Linked DNA regions of Homo sapiens: regions 1, 2, 3, 4, 5 and 7 are each linked to region 6. Evidence: promoter capture Hi-C in 16 types of primary human blood cells and fetal thymus (Javierre and others, 2016). All regions are on one chromosome and are shown on one strand. The core of a region is centred on a gene start or on the middle of the fragment in contact, and the rest is flanking DNA. Distances in the headings are between cores, read along the strand shown. Region 1 has its middle 6.2 kb from the start of PNMA8B. Region 2 has its middle 4.8 kb from the start of CCDC8. Region 3 holds the start of HIF3A (hypoxia inducible factor 3 subunit alpha). Region 4 holds the start of PPP5C (protein phosphatase 5 catalytic subunit). Region 5 has its middle 16 kb from the start of PNMA8C. Region 6 holds the start of IGFL4 (IGF like family member 4). Region 7 has its middle 28 kb from the start of PNMA8B.

Region 1 (2,733 bases), core at 48-2,547, 460 kb before region 6:
TGCAGCCTCAAACCTCCCAGGTTCAAGCAATTCTCCTACCTCAGCCTCCCCAGTAGCTGGTATTACAGGCATGGGCCACCACAACTGACTAATTTTTCTCGTATTTTTTGTAGAGATGGGGTCTCCTTATGTTGTCCAGGCTGGTCTCGAACTCCTGGGCTCAGGCAATCCTCCTGTCTTGGTCTCCCAAAGTACTGGGATAACAGGTATGAGCCACCTTGCCTAGCCCTAAAAATAGATATATTTCCCAAAACAAAACAAAGTTAGTGAGAAGAGTGGCACTGTAGTATTTTGGTGTTTTTCAACTCACTTTGATATCTGGCTCAACAATCCTTGACCTGCCTCCTGGTTCAGTCAGCTGCAATACGGCACGGCATGTAGCCTCTGGAAAATTCCACTGAACACTGGTAAGAGAGTAAGAGTGAAAAGACAAATAATGGTTTAGTATTATGAAAATGGTTTTTATCTGATGGATGCCCTGGAATGTCCTTGCAACCCGTAGAGGTCCCCAGACCACACTTTGAGAACCCTTGCTCTGGCCGGGGGCGGTGGCTCACACCTGTAATCCCAGCACTTTGGGAGGCTGAGGCGGGCGGATCACGAGGTCAGGAGATTGAGATCATCCTGGCTAACACGGTGAAACCCCGTCTCTACTAAAAAAATTAAAAAATTAGCCGGATGTGGTGGCAGGCACCTGTAGTCCCAGCTACTTGGGAGGCTGAGGGAGGAGAATGGCGTGAACCCGGGAGGCGGAGCTTGCAGTGAGCTGAGATTGCGCCACTGCACTCCAGCCTGGGCAACAGAGTGAGACTCCGTCTCGAAAAAAAAAAAACGAAAACAAAGAAAGAGAACCCTTGCTCCAATAGCGCCATTTCCAGTTAAGCAGATTCACTTGTATTTTTCTCGAACACAAAATGAGGGGGAGAAGAATTTCGAACAATTTTTTCAAGCGATCCTCCCACCTCAGTCTCCTGAGTTGCTGGGACTCCAAGTGCATGCCATCAGGCCCAGCTAATTTTTGTATTTTTAGTAGAGACGGGGTTTCACCATGTTGTCCAGGCTGGTCTTGAACTCCTGGCCTCATGTGATCCACCCGCCTCGGTCTCCCAAAGTGCTGGGATTACAGGCGTGAGCCACCACGCCCGGCCTTGAACGCTTTACGCCCTTTCTTCCAGCTGTTTCCATTGGAACCTTACAGGCAGTGGCTTGGTCAGTCATAGGCTCATCTCTGCCTAAGAAGAGATCATGATTCCAGGGGAAATGCCCAGGGCGGGACTGGGCAGGACATGTTGGGGATCCTGATGTCCCTGCCTGGCTGGTCCCTGTAAGATCTTCTGTGCACAGGGCTTGGGGTTCATAGTCTATCCTTTTTTTTTTTTTTCTTTTTTTTTGAGACAGGGTCTTACTCTGTCATCCAGGCTGGAGTGCAGTGGCTCAGTCATGGCTCACTGCAGCCTCGACCTGGCAGGCCCAAGCAATCCTCCCACCTCAGCCTCCTGAGTAGCTGGGATTACAGGCACCTGCCAACATGACCAGCTAATTTTTCTTTTCTTTTTTTTTTTTTCAGACGGGAGTCTCACTCTGTTGCCCAGGCTGGAGTGCAGTGGCGCAATCTCGGCTCACTGCAAGCTCTGCCTCCCGGGTTCACACCATTCTCCTGCCTCAGCCTCCCAAGTGGCTGGGACTACAGGTGCCCACCACCACACCTGGCTAATTTTGCGTATTTTTAGTAGAGACGGGGTTTCACTGTGTTAGCCAGGATGGTCTTGATCTCCTGACCTCATGATCCACCCACTTCAGCCTCCCAAAGTGCTGGGATTACAGGCATGAGCCACCATGCCTGGCCATGACCAGCTAATTTTGGTATTTTTGGTAGAGATGGGGTTTCACCATGTTGGGCAGGCTGGTCTTGAACTCCTGGCCTCAAGTGATCTGCCTGCCTTAACCTCCCAAAGTGCTGGGATTACAGGTGTGAGCCACCACACACAGCCCAACATATGAATTTTATTTTATTTTATTTTATTTTATTTTATTTTATTTTATTTTATTTATTTATTTAGAGACAGTCATGCCTGTCACCCAGGCTGGAGTTCAGTGGTACAATCTCAGCTCACTGCAACCTCCGCCTTCCAGGTTCAAGCGGTTCTCCTGCCTCAGCCTCCTGAATAGCTGGGATTCCAGCCACTCACCATCACACCTGGCTAATTTTTGTATTTTTAGTAGAGATGGGGTTTCGCCATGTTGGCCAGGCTGGTCTCGAACTCCTGACCACAAGCAATCCACCTGCCTCAGCCTCCCAGAATGATGGGATTACACGCGTGAGCCACCACACCCAGGCTCCAACATATGAATTTTAAAGAGACATAATTCAGCCTCTGTACCTTTGGGTCCTCTTATAAACCAGACGCTCTCCTGGGGAGTCCCCTCTGCATTCCAGCGTGCCACCTCATCCTGTCCCACGGTGAGAATGAAATCTTTGTCCCAGTAACACTCAGGGCCAGGCACTGTTCCAACACACACACACACACACACACACACACACACACACACACACACATCCCGCTTAAATCCTCACAACCTCACGATAAACTGGGGCCACAGAGCCATGAAGAGACAAAGTGACTTGCTTGGTTATTGGGCAAATGTAAAAGACTAACCCGGATGGCACTTTGATCTTGGACTTCCAGACTCTGGAACTGGGAGAAAATAGATTTCTGTTATCTAAGCCATCCA
Region 2 (2,728 bases), core at 35-2,534, 380 kb before region 6:
CCGAGTAGATGGGACTACAGGCTTGCACCACCACGTCCAGCTAATTTTTTGTACTATTTTTGTAGAGATGGGGTTTTGCTATGTTGCCCAGGCTGGTCTTGAACTCCTGGGCTCAAGCGATCCACCCCACTGAGTGTGGAGATTGGGGCCAGGCATGGTGGCTTCCATCTGTAATGCCAGCACTTTGGAAGGCTGAGGTAGGAGGATCACTTGAGCCCAGGAGTTCGAGATTAGCCTGGAAAATATGGCGAAACTCCAACTTTACAAAAAATTAGCTGGGCATGGTGACATGGGCCTGTAGTCCCAGCTACTTGGGAAGCTGAGATGGGAGGATAGCTTGAGCCCAGGAGGTCGAGGCTGAAGTGAGCAGAAATCGTATCACTGGGCGACAGAGCAAGACCCTGTCTCAAAACAAACAAACAAACAACAAACAAACAAACAAAAAGTGTGTGGAGATTGGAATCTAATAAACCTGAGTGATTCAAAGCTTGGCTCTGCCACTACCTAGCTGTGTGACTTTCCTTGGACTCAGTTTTTTTTTTTAATCTGAAAAATGGGAATAACATTTGCTTAAGGAAGGGTTCTAAGGACTGAATGAGAAAATGCACAGGGCCAAGGATAAAGTAGGTGCTCAGTAAAAATGAATTATTATCAGTATCACGTTCCTGGCTTGAAGGAATAAAGATGGAAGCTGTCGTGACAAACAAAAACAGACTGGCAAGCACTGATACAGAAGGACATTAAGTGAAAACACATTTTATAGTAATAAATCTAGTGCAATTCTCAGCATTCATTCAGTTAATAAATATTTGTAGCTCCTACCTGAAGTGTTCTAGATGCTGAGACTTCAGCAGTGAACAAACCAGACTCATATCCCAGACCTCATGGGGATAGTATTCTAATAGGGTGAAACAATAAATAAGTACATACAAATAGGCCCAGCGTGGTGCCTCTCGCCTGTAATCCCAGCACTTTGAGACCCAGAGGCAGGAGCATCAGTTGAGGCCAGGAGTTCAAGACCGGTCTGGGCAACATAATGAGAATACCTCTCTACAAAAAATTTTTAAAAATAGCCAGGCATGGTGGCACACACCTGTAGCCCCAGACACTCAGAAGGCTGAGGTGGGAGGATTGCTTGAGCCCAGGATTTCGAGGTTACAGTGAGCCATGATCATGCCACTGCACTTCAGCCTGGGTGACAGAGTGAGACCCTGTCTCAAAGAAAAAAAAAAACAAAAACAGAAAGTGGTAAGTGCTGTGATGAAAATAATTTAGGATGATGGGGGAAAAAAATCTCTGTGAGATAAATTCTAAAATTAACATAAAAAAAAAAGCCAGGTGAAGTGGCTCACGCCTGTAATCCCAGCACTTTGGGAGGCCAAGGTGGGTGGATCACCTGAGGTTCGAGATCGAGACCACCCTGATCAACATGGAGACATCCCGTCTCTACTAAAAATACAAAATTAGCTGGGTGGGTTGGCCTGTAATCCCAGCTGCTCTGGAGGCTGAGGCGGGAGAATTGCTTGAACGCGGGAGGTGGAGGTTGTGGTGAGTCGGAGATCGCGCCATTGCACTCTAGCCTGGGCAATAAGAGCAAAACTCCGTCTCAAAAAAAAAAAAATAAATTAATAAAATAAAATAAAATTAACACATACACTAATGCAAGCATTTTTTCTCTGGAAAAATACAGAGATATTTAACTGGTTACTTTTTGGGGAGAGGCTGGAAGGTGGGGTTTGGGGAGAAGAATCCTTTTTTGAAAAAAATTTACCTTTCTGTAACTTTTGCTTTTTCTGACCGTGTATCCTTTTTTGAGACAGGGTGTTACTCTGTTGCCCAAGCTGGAGTACAGTGGCACCACCTCAGCTCACTGCAACCTGTGCCTCCCAGGTTCAAGCGATTCTCCTGCCTCAGCCTCCCTAGTAGCTGAGATTACGGGCGCCTGCCATCGTGCCCAGCTAATTTTTGTACTTTTAGTAGAGACGGTGGGGTTTCATCATATTGGCCAGGCTGGTCTCGAACTCCTGACTTCAGGCGATCGCCCGCGTAGGCCTCCCAAATTGCTTGGATTACAAGCTTGAGCCACTGCCCCTGGCCCGCGTGTCCCATTTTTTTTTTAAATGGCAACAAAATGTAGCTGGGTAGAGGGATTTCAGCCGTGTTTTGTTTCTCTTCCCCATTCTTTTCCAACTTTCCATTTATTTTAAACAAATGCAAAAGTGAGGCTACAGTTCTCGTTTTTATTATTTTATTCTGTGATGGCTGGAGAAGGGTCTCACCTGCCAGAGATCTGTGCAATTAAAAACACCCACAGCTGAACCGTTCAGGGGCTGGCAATTTTTTTTTTTTTTGAGATGGAGTCTCGCTCTGTTGCCCAGGCTGGCGTGCAGATGGGCGATCTCCGCTTCCTGCAGCCCTGACCTCCCGGGCTCAAGCGATAGGCCCACCTCAGTCTCCCGAGTAGCTCAGACCACAGGCGCACACCATAATATTCGGCTAATTTTTAAATTTTTTGTGGAGACCGGAGTCTCGCTATGTTGCCCAGGCTGGTCTCCAATTCCTGGGCTCAAGCGATCCTCCTGCCTTGGCTTCCCAAAGTGCTGGGATTACAGGCATGAGTCACCGCCCCCGGCCGGAGGTTGACGATTTTTGCAAAAATATGGAACATTTGGGATTTTCATTTCTTAGATTATCCTCCTTGCGCCGCTCCCTGCTCCCCCACCAAATA
Region 3 (2,700 bases), core at 20-2,519, 260 kb before region 6:
GGGGCGGAACGACAGCTGGCCCAAAAGGGGTGGGATAGAGTTCCTTGTTAGGCCCAGAGCCAGGGCCTGGAATAGAGTAGGGGACAGGGGAGAGGATGGGGGCGGTTAGAAACATGGGGTGTGCATGGATCCAATCAGGCCTGAGAAGCCAGGGAGGAGGGAAGGGGGTGAGGCTTACTGGGTGCCTCACATTGGACAGGGAAAGCTGAGGACCTAGAACATTTTCCAGGGTCCCATGGGAACATGGCCAGATAAAACCCCCCGGCAGCGGCCCCAGGGCACAGGTTCCCCTGTGTTCCAGCAGAGCTGCACCTGCTGGGCAAGTGAACCCAGAAACCCACCCTCTGCCCGGGATGACCCCATCTGAGTACTGCGGCAGGGGGCGTTCCCATCACAGCCTGCAGGCTCACAGCACCCTGCCATGGAGTCTCCCCAAAATAAAGCTTGGATGAGGCTCCCCTGTCTCTCAGGATGGGGGTGCAGGGGTGAGATGAGGGGCTGGACTTTGGGAAGTGGGTCCAGCTTGTTTCCCTGTTATTTAAGGGGGTGACTCTGGCTTTTGAAAGGATACAAAAAGTCTCTTGGGAAGGGTCCCAGACGGCTTCTGAAAGGGGCTCCCCTCTGCCCATTTCTAGGGAAACCCAATGTTTAGGAGACTGTGTCAGGAAGCATACTATTAGAGGAGATCTCTCCTCTCTTGAACTCAGGAGCTGAATGCCATTCCAAGGGACTCCCTATATGTGGGAAGGCTCCATTTAGGGGTATCCCATATCACCTAGGATCCCAGGCACCTGGTGGCAAAGAATACCCTCAATTTTGGGGGGTTCAGAGGCCAGAGGGATCAATATGTGGAGGGCGAATATCTCCCGCAGAAGCCTGGGGACTGCTCAAATGCAATCACCCCTAATTTATCAGGAATCCCAAGTTCCACCCCCAACCAGGAGGGTAAATGAGCCTTGGGTAGCGAGAAATCGGGAACCCCGAAGCCGCTCTTGGCCAGAGGGGCGGGGCAGCCAGAGACGTAGGGAATCCCCCACCCCTGCAGTCCCTAAGGGTGGAGAGTGCGGTGGGGATGTGCCTCCAACTGCGCGCCCCGGGGCGTTCTTGGCTCGCACCCGCGAACCCCACCCCCCCCAACAATCCAGCTCAGGGGTCTCCAGGAGGAGAGCCCCCCAATTCCCAGAACTCCTGCCCCCGAACTTCAGTACCTTGCGCGCTGCAGCCCCAGCGCCATGGCTCGCCAGTCGCCGCTCCGGAGCCCTCGGAGGCCCCTAGCCCCCTCCCCGGCCTTGCGAGCCCCCTCCCCAGCTCCTCCCCACGCCGCGCGGTTGGCTGTGCCACGCCAGGCCTGAGGCTCTGATTGGGCAACGGTATGTCACTCCTGAAAAGGAGGCGGAACCAGAGGGAAAGACTTGGAAAGGCAAGGGGGGGATACCGTGTAATACACACCCCCCAACCACGCCCCTCGCCGCGGACTTCCTCGGCAGTGTATCCCGCACCGTCGGCTGAACGCGCCTTCTCTAGTCCAGCCTCTGAAGTGCCAACGCCAGTACTCTTCTGAACCCACTCAGTTCACTCTGCTCTCTGGACCCCAGTCCCCAGCCTCTAACCCCCACCTCTTCTCACCTTTCCATTTCCTAACCCCAGTTGAGCCCCTCTGACCTCCAATCCCACCCCTTCCAAACCCCTAGCCCTGCCTTCTCTATCCCTTCTAAGGTATTCACAGAGTACCCCACATCTCCTCCCCACCCCCCAACTCCCAACCCCACCCCAGTTCCACAATCCTTGGCCCTCTGGCACCTACCCTTCTCTCTCTCTCCCCAGCCCCTCCCTGCCACCCCAGTCCCATACCCCACTTCGCCCCCATTCCTCCAGTCTGCACCCTCTGCACCCCAGCTTACCTTCCCTACCCCCTCTACTCCACCCTAACCTCTTGGCCTCTCTGACTCCCTTTTCAGGTTCCCATTGATGAATAATTAAGCTTATGTCAAGTAAATATGTTTTAACTCAATCACACCTACTTCAAAAAAGAGCCGAGAAATGTATTTTTTTTTAACTAGTCGACTATGAAGGGAGAAGTACAAAGGTACCAAGCAAGGGTGAAAGCATTACAGTTGGATAAGGAACAGAGTGTGTGTGTGTGTGTGTGTGTGTGTGTGTGTTGGACCACTATTCTGGATTTGGTTGGCAGGGAAGAGGATACTACAGCAGAAGTGGCCTTGTTGAACCTTGAACTTGCCAGGCAAGTTGCTCACCTTAGGGCCTTTGCACTTGCTGTTCCCACAGCTTAGCACACTCTTCCTCCAGGAATCCACACGGCTCCCCGGCTCACGCCAGTTCCCCACTCTGTTTTCTTTTGGGAAACCACTTCTCTGTCCTCTTCATCTATTTAATTTGAATAGGGCTTGGCCACTGCTCTGCCTTCACCAGCTCCAGGGATGGACATAGGATCCAAACCTGGCTAATCAGTTGAGTCTGCTTCCCTGGCCACAGTGATTGGTTCAGGGAAGGCATGTTACCTAATTTAGCCCAATGAGAATCAACCCTGAGACATTTGCTGAAACCATTAGGAAAGAGGATTTTCTATGTCTGCTGGAATTGCTGGGCAGATGGAGCAGATGGGGCTCACACTGCCACAAAGAGAGGAGAGGCTTTATGAGATGAGGTTCAGTGCAAAAGAGATTGTGCAGAAATGAACGA
Region 4 (2,700 bases), core at 196-2,695, 310 kb before region 6:
CACCAGCCTGGCCAACATGGCGAAACCCCATCTCTACTAAAAGTACAAAAATTATCTGGGCATGGTGGTGTGCGTCTATAATCCCAGCTACTCGGGAGGCTGAGGCAGGAGAATCGCTTGAACCAGGGAGGCGGAGGTTGCAGTGAGCCGAGATTGCGCCATTGCACTCTAGCCTGGGCAAAAAGAGCAAAACTCCCGTCTCAAAAAAAAAAAAAAAAAAAAAATTCCAAACTGGTCTTTGTAATGACTCACGGAGACCCTGCATGATCTGGCCTCTGTCCTAATCTCATCTTGTTATTGGTCTCCCCCTAAGTAGCCAAAGCCCCAGCCATGCCAGTACCCTTTCATTCCCCATCCCAGGGCCTTTGCACAGGCTGCTTTACCTCCCTGGAACACTCCTCTCCAGTTCTCCCTCTGTGAGTTTCAGCTTAAACGCCTCCTGCTCAGTAAGGCCTTCCCCCACTACCCTATCTAAAGTAGCCTCCAACCCTTATTCTCTACTTCATCACACTGCTGGTTTGCTTTCAAAGCACTCATCACAATTTAAGTATTTTACTTATTTACATGGTTTTTTTTTGTTTTTTTTTTTTTCATGTCTGGTTCACCTGCAAAATTACAAGCTAAGGACAGGGCCACATCTGTCTCATTCACTGCTATATCCCCAAAGTCAAGCACAGTCCTTGGCACATAACAGGTACTCAATAAATATTTGTTGAATTAATGAATGAATGGGTGCCCCACACTTGACTCTCAATATTCTAAGTGATACTATTCTTAAGGATCCCCACCCTTACTCCCAAGGCCCCCACCATCACATTCCTTTTCCTCGGGTCAGCCCAAATCTCCTACTTCCTTGTTCCCCCCATCTAATGATCCATTCCCCACCCCCACGATTGCCTTCTCTATTGGGGCTGTGCCCCCTCTACCCCCCACTTGGCGGCACCCACCCCAGGACTCCCCATTTGGTAGCGCCATCAATCACTCCCCCACCACATGTCACTGCCTGGTAGCGCCCTCTACAGGCCTCACGTTTGGTAGCGCCCTCATTCCAGTCCCCCTCTCGCCCCACAATTGGTGGCGCCCTCCTCAGTCTCTCCACTGAGTAGCACCCGCTCCGCACGCCACTCCTAGGTATCACTCTCCGAAGCCCCCTATGTCGCTCCTTGGCAGCGCCATCCTGGGCCTCCCCACGCCCGGTCACTTGGTAGTGTCTGCCCCGCGCCCAGGCTGCAGCTCCGCGTTGCTATGGTTCCGCGCGGGCCCGGCACCCCTCAGCCTGGGCCACTGTCCACCCTCCCTGCCAGGCGGGCGCACCTTTGAAGTAGTCATTGGCCTGAGTCTTGAGCTCCTCTGCCCGCTTCAGAGCTCCATCAGCCGGGGGTTCGTCCCGGGGGGGCTCAGCACACTCAGTCCTCTCGCCCTCCGCCATCGCCATGCCGCAAAGCGACCCCTACCCTGGCAACGGCCGCCAGCGGCACCCGGCCGAACCGTCGCGAAGGAGCGCCGGGTGGCCGCCGCCGCTGCCGCACAAGTGTCGTAAAGCGCGGGCCCTGAAGGCGCCCTTCACGCGCCTGCGCAGGTCCCTTTCGCCACAGAGCGCGCGGAGGACAAGGTGACCAGAGGTTCCCCAGACGGTACCCCTGGTAGAGAGAGCCAATAGGGAATGAGAGAAGGGGCGCGCGGGGAAACAGACCTGGTGTGGCCTCTCCTCCCAAAGTTACCGTGTTCCAAGGCTGTAAAAAGTTTCTCGGTTCTGAAAGTGGGATTTCCCCGCTGTCCTCTAGGGTTGGGGGGTGGGTTGTGAATGTCGCTGGCGGGTGTGGCTGTTTTGCAAGGCAGCGCCATGCCCTACGCGGAGCCGGACCCGGGCGTCGAGCCCTATTGTCGACTACCTGTGTGACCTTGAACAAATCTTCCCTTCCTCTCTAGGGTCTCAGTTACCCATCTCTGAAAAATTAGTGGTTTCTCAAGCCAAAAAGGGTCCAACCTTGAGGGTCAGTGTTTGAGTTTTTAACTGAAGGCACTCTGGATTTCAAGTCCTGAGCAAGGCTTAGAAGTGTGTTGCACCATCTCCTTTCTTCCTGTGTTCAGCTTCCCAAATCCTGAATCTTCAAATAAACTCTCCTGTTTGTGTTTTTACAGATTCTCTTGTCTGAGATCACAGCATTGATTGCATGCACTCTGCCTCCCTCCAGTTTACCCTTCACATTTTTTTTTTTTTTTTTTTTTTTTTGAGAGGGAGTCTCCCTCTGTCGCCCAGGCTGGAGTGCAGTGGCGCCATCTAGGCTCACTGCAACCTCCGCCTCCCGGTTTAAGCGATTCTTCTGCCTCAGCCTCCCAAGTAGCTGGGATTACAGGCGCCCGCCACCATGCCCGGCTAATTTTTGTATTTTAGTAGAAACGGGTTTCACCACGTTGGCCAGGCTGGCCTCGAACTGCCGACCTCAAGCTATCCGCCCGCCTCGGCCTCCCAAAGTGCTGGGATTACAGGCGTGAGCCACCGTGCCCGGCCGAGGGATCTTTCTAAGACATGATAAAACCATGGCACACTCTCGCTCCCAGGCTTCCATGGCCCCAGCACCCTTAGGAGAAAACCCAAACTCCTGATTAGGAGACCCTGAATAGTCTTAACCTCAGGCTGAATAGTCTAATATCCAGATTCCACCCCTTTGCCAATCCCCACCCGCCGTACACGCTTCC
Region 5 (2,700 bases), core at 123-2,622, 400 kb before region 6:
CCAGGATGGCTCTGAAGGTGGCCCAACACAAATTCGTAAACTTTCTTAGAACATTATGAGATTTTGGCCGGGTGCGGTGGCAACGCCTATAATCCCAGCACTTTCGGAGGCTGAGGCGAGCGGATCACCTGAGGTCGGGAGTTCGAGACCAGCCTGACCAACATGGAGAAACCCTGTTTCTACTAAAAATACAAAATTAGCCGGGTGTGGTGGTGCATGCCTATAATCCCAGCTACTTGGGAGGCTGAGGAAGGAGAATCACTTGAACCCAGAGGTGGAGGTTGCAGTGAGCCGAGACTGGGCCATTGCACTCCAGCCTGGGCAACAAGAGCGAAACTCCGTCTCGAAAACAAAAAACAACAACAACAACAAAAAATGAGATTTTTTTTTTTTGCGATTTTTTTTTTTTTTTAGCTCATCAGCTATTGTTAGTGTTAGCGTATTTTATGTGTTGCCCAAGACAATTCTTCTTCCAGTGTGGCCCAGGGAAGCCAAAAGATTGGACACCTCTGGCCTAAATGAGCTCATCTAGCTCCATGGCTTAAGATATTTCCCGTGTGCCAATGGCTTCTAAATTTTTATCTCCACCCCATCTCTGAACTCCAGGCTCATATATCTAACTCGGCTTGGAAGCCTACAAGGCATATCAAATTTAAGACATTCAAAATGGGATTCCCCACTCCCAAGTTCATTTTCCCTAGAGCTTCCTCATCTCACTGAATGGACGCACCATCATTCTAACAGTTCAAGCCCAAAGCTGAGTCAATTAAAAAAAACAAAAAACAACAACAACAAAAAAGCCGGGCGCGGTGGCTCACGCCTGTAATCCCAGCACTTTGGGAGGCTGAGACAGGTGGATCACCTGGGGTCGGGAGTTTGAGACCAGCATGACCAACATGGTGAAACCCCATCTCTACTAAAAACACAAAATTAGCCGGGCATGGTGGTGCGTGCCTGTAATCCCAGCTACTCGGGAGGCTGAGGCAGGAGAATCGCTTGAACCTGGGGTGGCGTAGGTTGCAGTGAGCCGAGATCGTGCCATTGCACCCCAGCCTGGGCAACAAGAGGGAAACTCCGTCTGAAAAAAAAAAAAGTTTTGTATTGAGGTGAAATTCACATAATATAAAATGAACCATTTAGAAATAATATAAAATGAACCATTTAGAGTGTACACAGCTGGGCAAGGTGGTTCACGTCACCAGCACTTTGTAATTCCAGCACTTTGGGAGGCCAAGGCAGGAGGATCACTTGAGCCCAGGAGTTCAAGACCAGCTGGGGCAACATGGTGGGACCCCGTCTCTACAAAAACTTTAAAAATTAAGGACCAGGAGAGGTGGCTCACGCCTGTAATCCCAGCACTTTGGGAGGCCGAGGTGGGCAGATCATGAGGTCAGGAGATTGAGACCATCCCCGCTAACACGGTGAAACTCCGTCTCTACTAAAACTACAAAAAAAAAATTAGCCGGGCGTGGTGGCGGGCACCTGTAGTCCCAGCTACTCGGGAGGCTGAGGCAGGAGAATGGTGTGAACCCGGGAGGTGGAGCTTGCAGTGAGCCGGAGATGGCGCCACTGCACTCCAGCCTGGGTGACAGAGCGAGACTCCATCTCAAACAAACAAACAAACAAAAAAAACACCAAAGGGCTGAGTGTGGTGGTTCATGCCTGTAATCCCAACACTTTGGAAGGCTGAGGCAGGAAGATCGCTTGAGCCAAGGAGTTTGAGATCAGCCTGGGCGACATGGCAAAACCCTGTCTCTACTAAAAATACAAATATACAAAAAAAAAAATTAGCTGGGTGAGGTGGTGTGTCTCTGTAGTCCCAGCCACTCACAAGGCTGAGGTGGCCACGAGAATCACCCAAGCCTAGGAGGTCGAGGCTGCACTGAGCCATGATCATGCCACAGCACTCCAGCCTGGGTGACAGGAGTGAGACCCTGTCTCTAAATAAATACATAAACCACCAAAGGTTTGAACGTGGCTGCATAGTCTTTGGGTAACCTACCCTCACCTGAATTTTCCCAAAAGGCTCATTTAATTCTAACATGCTACTGACCAGGCACAGTGGCTCACGCCTGTAATCCCAGTATTTTGGGAGGCCGAAGTGGGCAGATTACTTGAGGTCAAGAGTTTTGAGACCAGCCTGGCCAGCATGGTGAAACCCCGTGTCTACTACAAATACAAAAATTAGCCAGGTGTGGTGGCACACACCTGTAATCCCAGCTACTGGGGAGGCTGAGGCAGAAGAATCGCTTGAACCTGGGAGGCAGAGGTTGCAGTGAGCTGAGATCACGCCGCTGCACTCCAGCCTGTGCAATAGAGCGAGGCTCCGTCTCAAAAACAAAAAACAGGCTGGGCGCGGTGGCTCTCACCTGTAATCCCAGCACTTTGGGAGGCCGAGGTGGGCAGATCACGAGGTCAGGAGATTGAGACCATCCTGGCTAACACAGTGAAACCCTGTCTCTACTAAAAATACAAAAAATTAGCTGGGCATGGTGGTGGGTGCCTGTAGTCTCAGCTATTTGGGAGGCTGAGGCAGGAGAATGGCCAGAACCCAGGAGGCGGAGCTTGCAGTGAGCCGAGATCTTGCCACTGCATTCCAGCCTGGGCGACAGAGCGAGACTTCGTCTCAAAAAAAAAAAAAAAAAACAAAAGAACAACAAAAAACAAACATGCTATTGAGCAAAATATAAGGTTCTTCAG
Region 6 (2,768 bases), core at 91-2,590:
GCTGTTCTGTGTAGGTGAGAGAATGTGTCTTTACAGGTGGGATTTCTGTTTGGATGTGTGGGAAAGGAGAAGGCATATTGATAAGCAGACAAACAGACATATCTATGCAAATACGCAACTGCAGAAATAGGCGAGGAGAGCTAGTTTATTGCATGAAATCAATACCGAAGACTTGGACATCCAGTCAAGAAAGGAGAGGCCAGGCTGGAGTGCAAATAAGCACAACAACAACAAAATCAATGCACTTTGGGAGGCTGGGGCAGGTGGATTGCTTGAGCTCAGGATTCCAAGACCAGAACATTGTAGGACCCTAACTCTATGAAAAATACAAAAAAATTAGCCAGGCCAGGAGGTGCCTGCCTGTAGTCCCAGCTACTCAAGAGGCTGAGGTGGGAGGATGGCTTCAACTTGGGGGGCAAAGGTTACAGTGAGCAAAGATAGCACCACTGCCCTCCAGCCTGGGAGACAGAGAGATACGGTGTCTCAAAAAAAAAAAAAAAAAAAGAGAGAGAGGAGGGAGGAGGAAGAGACTCTAGAGAGTCTATACTAACAATGCACTTTTACAAAGCTCTAATACCTGTGCCTTATCCTTCTTTCACCCTCCCACCCTTCTCACTGTGACACAGGGAAGAAACCAGTGGAAAATGGAGGGGCATGCTCTAAAAATACGCCACATGTAATCCCATCACACAGTGAGACACACAGGAGCATTTTCTTGGACAAGGCACTCCACAAACCAAAAAAAAAAAAAAGGTGCTGCTTTCCTATCTGGAATCCCAGAGATCCATCCTACCACCGCCTATTTTTGTTGTTGTTGTTCTCCCTGGCACAGTTTTGCAGCCCCTGCTGTTCTTCTAGATTATGCTGCAACTTCACAAATTCTCCTACGTGACTCTGAAAAATTATAGACAGTGCAGGTCTGCAGGTGAACTGAGACGGGGAGTAGAGGGACTCCTTGAAACTTCAGGGTGGAGGAATATGGGGAGCCTAGAGACAGCCGGTGTTTGGTGAGTAATTTGATCTTAGATAAGCAAGAGTTAAGGAATATCTTCCAAGTGGTTTTCCCTTGGGCGGTGTTCAAAGAAAGACACTCAGCAGAGTCAAAGCTTAGATAGGTTCCTGGGTAGCCTTTACCCTGAGGATCTGAAGGGTCTGAGGAGGCAGCAACCACTTGGAACAGGTCCAGAAGCATCTCATTAAGCTTTTGATGAATTATTTATGTTCCCTGCAGCTCTTTTTGCCTAACTCTTCCCAAGAAACCACTCCTTCTGCACACCTCCCTAAATGGCGGTAAGTTCATATCCTATATAAGCCCCTATGTAAAGTCACTGACCCATTTCCACTGCTGCTCCCTCGTCCGCTGCTCTGAAGCCTAACCCATGGTGCCCAGAATTTCTGGTAAGGAGACCCCAGCCCTAGGCTAAGCTAATCCCTAATGATATCACATCCCTAATTATTTCTGAACTTCAAAGTTAATTCTCTCTTCCCTATTTAATTATTGGTGTCCCACCTCATAATCACTGCTATGTCATCTGTGACTGCATTGTAATCTGTCTCCTGAACTGCAAATTCCAGAAGCTTAACTTTTCCCAGAGCCCTCCCTGCCTTTCCTCACCTGCCAAGCCCAGTCCCCAGGACCTGCACCCACAGCCAGTCCCAAAATCCACTCTGAGCTGTTAACAGCAACCAGAGAAGCTCAGAGACATCATCCTGTGCCCCGTGGTCAAGACCTAGTGACCTCAGAATCATTCTCGCTCTCCTTCTGCTTCTCAGCTGCCATCTTCATTTTTGAACTTTTGGGTTCAAACTCAGAAGGAGTCACAGGTGAGAACAGATGCAGTGAGGGAGGAGAGAACAGCATTAAGGTTGGTGGGGAGGTGGTCCTAGGCTGGTCCTTGCAGCCCATCCAGCCCCGACTCTTCCAGATCTTAGACTGTGGCTATGCCAGCCAGCGCCCAGGTGCGGGGAGTGGACCTACAACCCCTTGGAGCAGTGCTGTGATGACGGTGTCATCCTAGACTTGAACCAGACCCGGCTCTGCGGCTCCAGCTGCACCTTCTGGCCCTGCTTCCAGCACTGCTGCCTGGAGTCTTTGGGCTCTCAGAACCAGACAGTTGTGAGGTTCAAGGTCCCAGGCATGAAGCCAGATTGCAAGTCCTCCCCTATCACCAGGATCTGTGCCCAGGTAAGGATCTGACTCCAGTCCAGGCTGTGGGAGGGGGGAGTAGGGAATGGAGCTTGGTTGTCCATGTCCCACCCAGATGTGCAGTCTCTGCTGGGTTCCATACCTTCCCATCTCTCAGTAACCATGCAACTCTGTCTTTCTCCATGTCTCTGTTCCTTCCCCGCCACTGCTGCTACCACCCTCCCTCTTATTCCCCTCTCCCACTTCTCTCCTTCTGCAGGAATACCACCCAAAAAGCCCTGTGTCAAGATCTGACCTCATCTAGACTGTTCTGGGGTAGCAGAGTCACAGATCACTCTAGAATCTAATACTTGGTAATTATACTGCATTGATTTTGTTGTTGTTGTGACAGAGTTTCACTCTGTCCCCCAGGCTGGAGTGCAAATAAGCAACTTCAGCAAAGTCTCAGGATACAAAATCAATGTACAAAAATCACAAGCATTCTTATACACCAACAACAGACAAACAGAGAGCCAAATCATGAGTGAACTCCCATTCACAATTGCTTCACAGAGAATAAAATACCTAGGAATCCAACTTACAAGGGATGTGAAGGACCTCTTCAAGGAGAACTACAAACCAC
Region 7 (2,700 bases), core at 113-2,612, 480 kb before region 6:
TTGGCAGTAATCCCTCCCAATATTCAGATACAATAAACTATCTCTACAAATAAAGCCACCAACCTTGGCTCACTTGTTCAGAAGATAGCACCGTTAGAGAAATCCAAGAAGCACCAACCCTCTCACTACACATGACACTGACTTCCTTTGGTGGACAGAGCTCCAATTCCTTGTATTGGTGTCTCTGATTTAGAAAAGGCTATTATGGGCCAGGCACAGTGGCTGACACCTGTAATCCCAGCACTTTGGGAGGCCGAGGCGGGTGGATCACTTGAGGTAAGGAGTTCAATGCCAGCCTGGCCAACATGGTGAAACTTCGTCTCTACTAAAAATACTAAAATTAGCTGGGTGTGGTGGTGCACACCTGTAGTCCTAGGTACTTGGGAGGCTGAGGCAGGAGAATTGCTTGAACCCAGGAAGGGGAGGTTGCAGTGGTCCAAGATCATGCCACTGCACTCCTGCACTCCAGCCTGGGCAAGAGAGCAAGACTCCATATCAAAAAACAAAAACAGAAACAGAAAAAGAAAAAGAAGGAAGGAAGGAAGGGGCTATTATAAATGCTCTAAAACTTTAGAAAAAAACTTCAATGACACTGTTAATTTCCTCCAAGGCTTACAAACCGAGGTTTCTAGCCTTGCTTCAATAATTTCACAAAATGTATGAGTCTGAGCTACTCTAACTGCCCAAAAAGGAGGTATAATGAATGAAGCTGTCATTTCTGTGTTAATATATCAAGAATTTTTGCCCACACTTCAGAGGATTTTAAAGAACAGATGTAAATCTTATCAGATAGGTGATACTTTTTCCATTTATTTATTTAGTTGGTTACATCTTGGCTCCTGGGAATCTCTCCTCTGGTGAATTTTCCAACCCTTGGCTATATTATTCTCCTCCTAGTCATGATATTAACCTCCCTGGGAGTTGCATCCTCTTAAGGGTTTCCAATGCCTCTCAACAGCCACTGATGCAACTAATGACACCCATCTGCATTAGACAACTTGGAGAACCTAAGGACTCTACCACATATGTCTAAGATGACTATGCAGCTATCAAAAATGACTATACACCCATCTGTCCCAGCCAATAGCACTCCCAGAAAGTAATGCTATACGATTTCATTACCCCCTCAGCTTGCTATGTCAAAAGGGGAAAGTTGTTAAAATAAAATGGGGGGAGCCAGGCGCAGTGGCTCACACCTGTAATCTCAACACTTTGGGAGGCCAAATTGGGAGGATCCTTGAGCCCAGGAGTTTGAGACCAGCCTGGGCAACATGGCAAGACTCCATCTCTATAAAAGTAAAAAAAAAAAAATTAGCTGCACAAAGTGGTGCATGCCTGTGGTCCCAGCTACTTGCGAGGCTGAGGCAACAGGATCACCTGAGCACAGGAGGTTAAGGCTACAGTGAGCTGCGATCGTGCCATTCACTCCAGCCTGGGCAACCGAGCGAGACCCTGTTTCACACACACACACACAAAACTAGGGGGGGTGGATCCGGACTGAGAATTCCCCAAGAAGACAAAATCAGGCCACATAAGCAAAACCTAAGGTACTCTGACTTTTGAATGTAAGCGAAACTCAACTTAGATCTCGATCTCTCTCTCAATCTCTCTCCCTTGTTTTTTTTTTTTTTTTCTGAGATGGAGTCTGGCTCTGTCGCCCAGGCTGGAGTTCAGTGGTGCGATCTCGGCTCACTGCAAGTTCCGCCTTCTGGGTTCACGCCATTCTCCTGCTTCAGCCTCCCGAGTAGCTGGAACTACAGGCGCCCGCCACCTAATTTTTTGTATATTTAATAGAGACGGGGTTTCACCATGTTAGCCAGGATGGTCTCAATCTCCTGACCTCGTGATCCGCCCACCTTGGCCTCCCAAAGTGCTGGGATTACAGGCGTGAGCCACCACGCCCGGCTATCTCTCTCCCTTTCTTTCCTTTCTCCTTTCCTTTCTCTCTTTCTTTCTTTCTTTCTTTCTTTCATGGAATCTTGCTCTGTGACCCAGGCTGGAGTATAGTGGCATGATCTCTGCTCACTGCAGCCTCCATCTCCGGGGTTCAAGCAATTCTTGTGCTTCAGCCTGCCAAGTAGCTGGGATTACAGGCACGCACCACCACGCCCTGCTAATTTTTGTATTTTGTATTTTTTTTTTTTTAGTAGAGACGGGGTTTCACCATGTTGCTCAGGCTGGTCTCAAACTCCTGACCTCAAGTGATCTGTCTGCCTCAGTCTCCCAAAGTGCTGGGATTACAGGGGTGAGCCACCGCACCCAGCCAGCTTAGGTTATTTCTTACAAATGCCTCTGATAATCATAAACGAAACTTAAGTTGCCTTCCCCAAATGATATAAGAGGATTGCTTTTAACCAGTCCCGTGCAATCTGGAAACCTCCACTGTATAGACAGTCACTGTAAAGGTTAAACCACTTCCTGATTTTTGCTTTCTCAGCCATCCTGTAACAACATGCCTCTGAGCTTCTTACTACCTGGGTTGAGGTCTCCTGGATTGTGCCCTGTCCCCACTTTTTTTTAATGACAACAAACTTTTAAATATTTATTCATTGGATCTGATTTTGTTTTGGACACTGGCATGCAAAGGGGAGGGAGATGGTCATAGGACTGTTGTCAACGTTCAAAAGCAAAACAGGATTTATATGAGAAAGGTAAGAGAAGGGAGAGAAAACTTCATACTGAAGTCTGGGTGCCCTGGCT

What was found. Contacts are between HindIII fragments. The CHiCAGO score rates a contact against its expected background, and 5 or more counts as called.
Region 1: a fragment that was not itself captured here is called in contact with the fragment with the promoter of IGFL4 in region 6 in 1 of 17 cell types (M2 macrophages); the score reaches 5.1 in M2 macrophages.
Region 2: a contact is called between a fragment that was not itself captured here and the fragment with the promoter of IGFL4 in region 6, in 2 of 17 cell types (M1 macrophages and M0 macrophages). The highest score is 5.3, in M1 macrophages.
Region 3: a contact is called between the fragment with the promoter of HIF3A here and the fragment with the promoter of IGFL4 in region 6, in 4 of 17 cell types (M2 macrophages, M1 macrophages, total CD8 T cells and 1 more). The highest score is 8.8, in M2 macrophages.
Region 4: the fragment with the promoter of PPP5C here is called in contact with the fragment with the promoter of IGFL4 in region 6 in 16 of 17 cell types (M1 macrophages, erythroblasts, total CD4 T cells and 13 more); the score reaches 20.2 in M1 macrophages.
Region 5: a fragment that was not itself captured here is called in contact with the fragment with the promoter of IGFL4 in region 6 in 1 of 17 cell types (M1 macrophages); the score reaches 5.5 in M1 macrophages.
Region 7: a fragment that was not itself captured here is called in contact with the fragment with the promoter of IGFL4 in region 6 in 1 of 17 cell types (endothelial precursors); the score reaches 5.0 in endothelial precursors.

Annotation. Positions count from the first base shown.
Region 1 is chr19:46,500,722-46,503,454 of GRCh38, reverse strand. No RefSeq gene overlaps it. Among named protein-coding and RNA genes, the nearest start is that of PNMA8B, 6.2 kb to the right of the region's middle. The HindIII fragment of the contact is 5,709 bases long and covers 1-2,733 here.
Region 2 is chr19:46,416,990-46,419,717 of GRCh38, reverse strand. No RefSeq gene overlaps it. Among named protein-coding and RNA genes, the nearest start is that of CCDC8, 4.8 kb to the right of the region's middle. The HindIII fragment of the contact is 1,589 bases long and covers 490-2,078 here.
Region 3 is chr19:46,295,611-46,298,310 of GRCh38, reverse strand. It overlaps HIF3A (hypoxia inducible factor 3 subunit alpha), which reads right to left and starts at 1,269. Exons shown (of 15, transcript NM_152795.4): 1 at 1,209-1,269. The coding sequence starts at 1,234. The HindIII fragment of the contact is 1,538 bases long and covers 446-1,983 here.
Region 4 is chr19:46,345,832-46,348,531 of GRCh38, reverse strand. It overlaps PPP5C (protein phosphatase 5 catalytic subunit), which reads right to left and starts at 1,445. Exons shown (of 13, transcript NM_006247.4): 1 at 1,315-1,445. The coding sequence starts at 1,435. RefSeq lists enhancers at 1,198-1,327, 1,428-1,607. The HindIII fragment of the contact is 16,758 bases long and covers 1-2,700 here.
Region 5 is chr19:46,443,496-46,446,195 of GRCh38, reverse strand. No RefSeq gene overlaps it. Among named protein-coding and RNA genes, the nearest start is that of PNMA8C, 16 kb to the right of the region's middle. The HindIII fragment of the contact is 2,810 bases long and covers 1-2,700 here.
Region 6 is chr19:46,039,574-46,042,341 of GRCh38, reverse strand. It overlaps IGFL4 (IGF like family member 4), which reads left to right and starts at 1,340. Exons shown (of 4, transcript NM_001002923.3): 1 at 1,340-1,398; 2 at 1,774-1,824; 3 at 1,926-2,185; 4 at 2,406-2,768. The coding sequence starts at 1,380. The coding sequence ends at 2,450. The HindIII fragment of the contact is 377 bases long and covers 1,204-1,580 here.
Region 7 is chr19:46,522,823-46,525,522 of GRCh38, reverse strand. It overlaps the pseudogene PPP5D1P. Among named protein-coding and RNA genes, the nearest start is that of PNMA8B, 28 kb to the right of the region's middle. The HindIII fragment of the contact is 3,185 bases long and covers 1-2,700 here.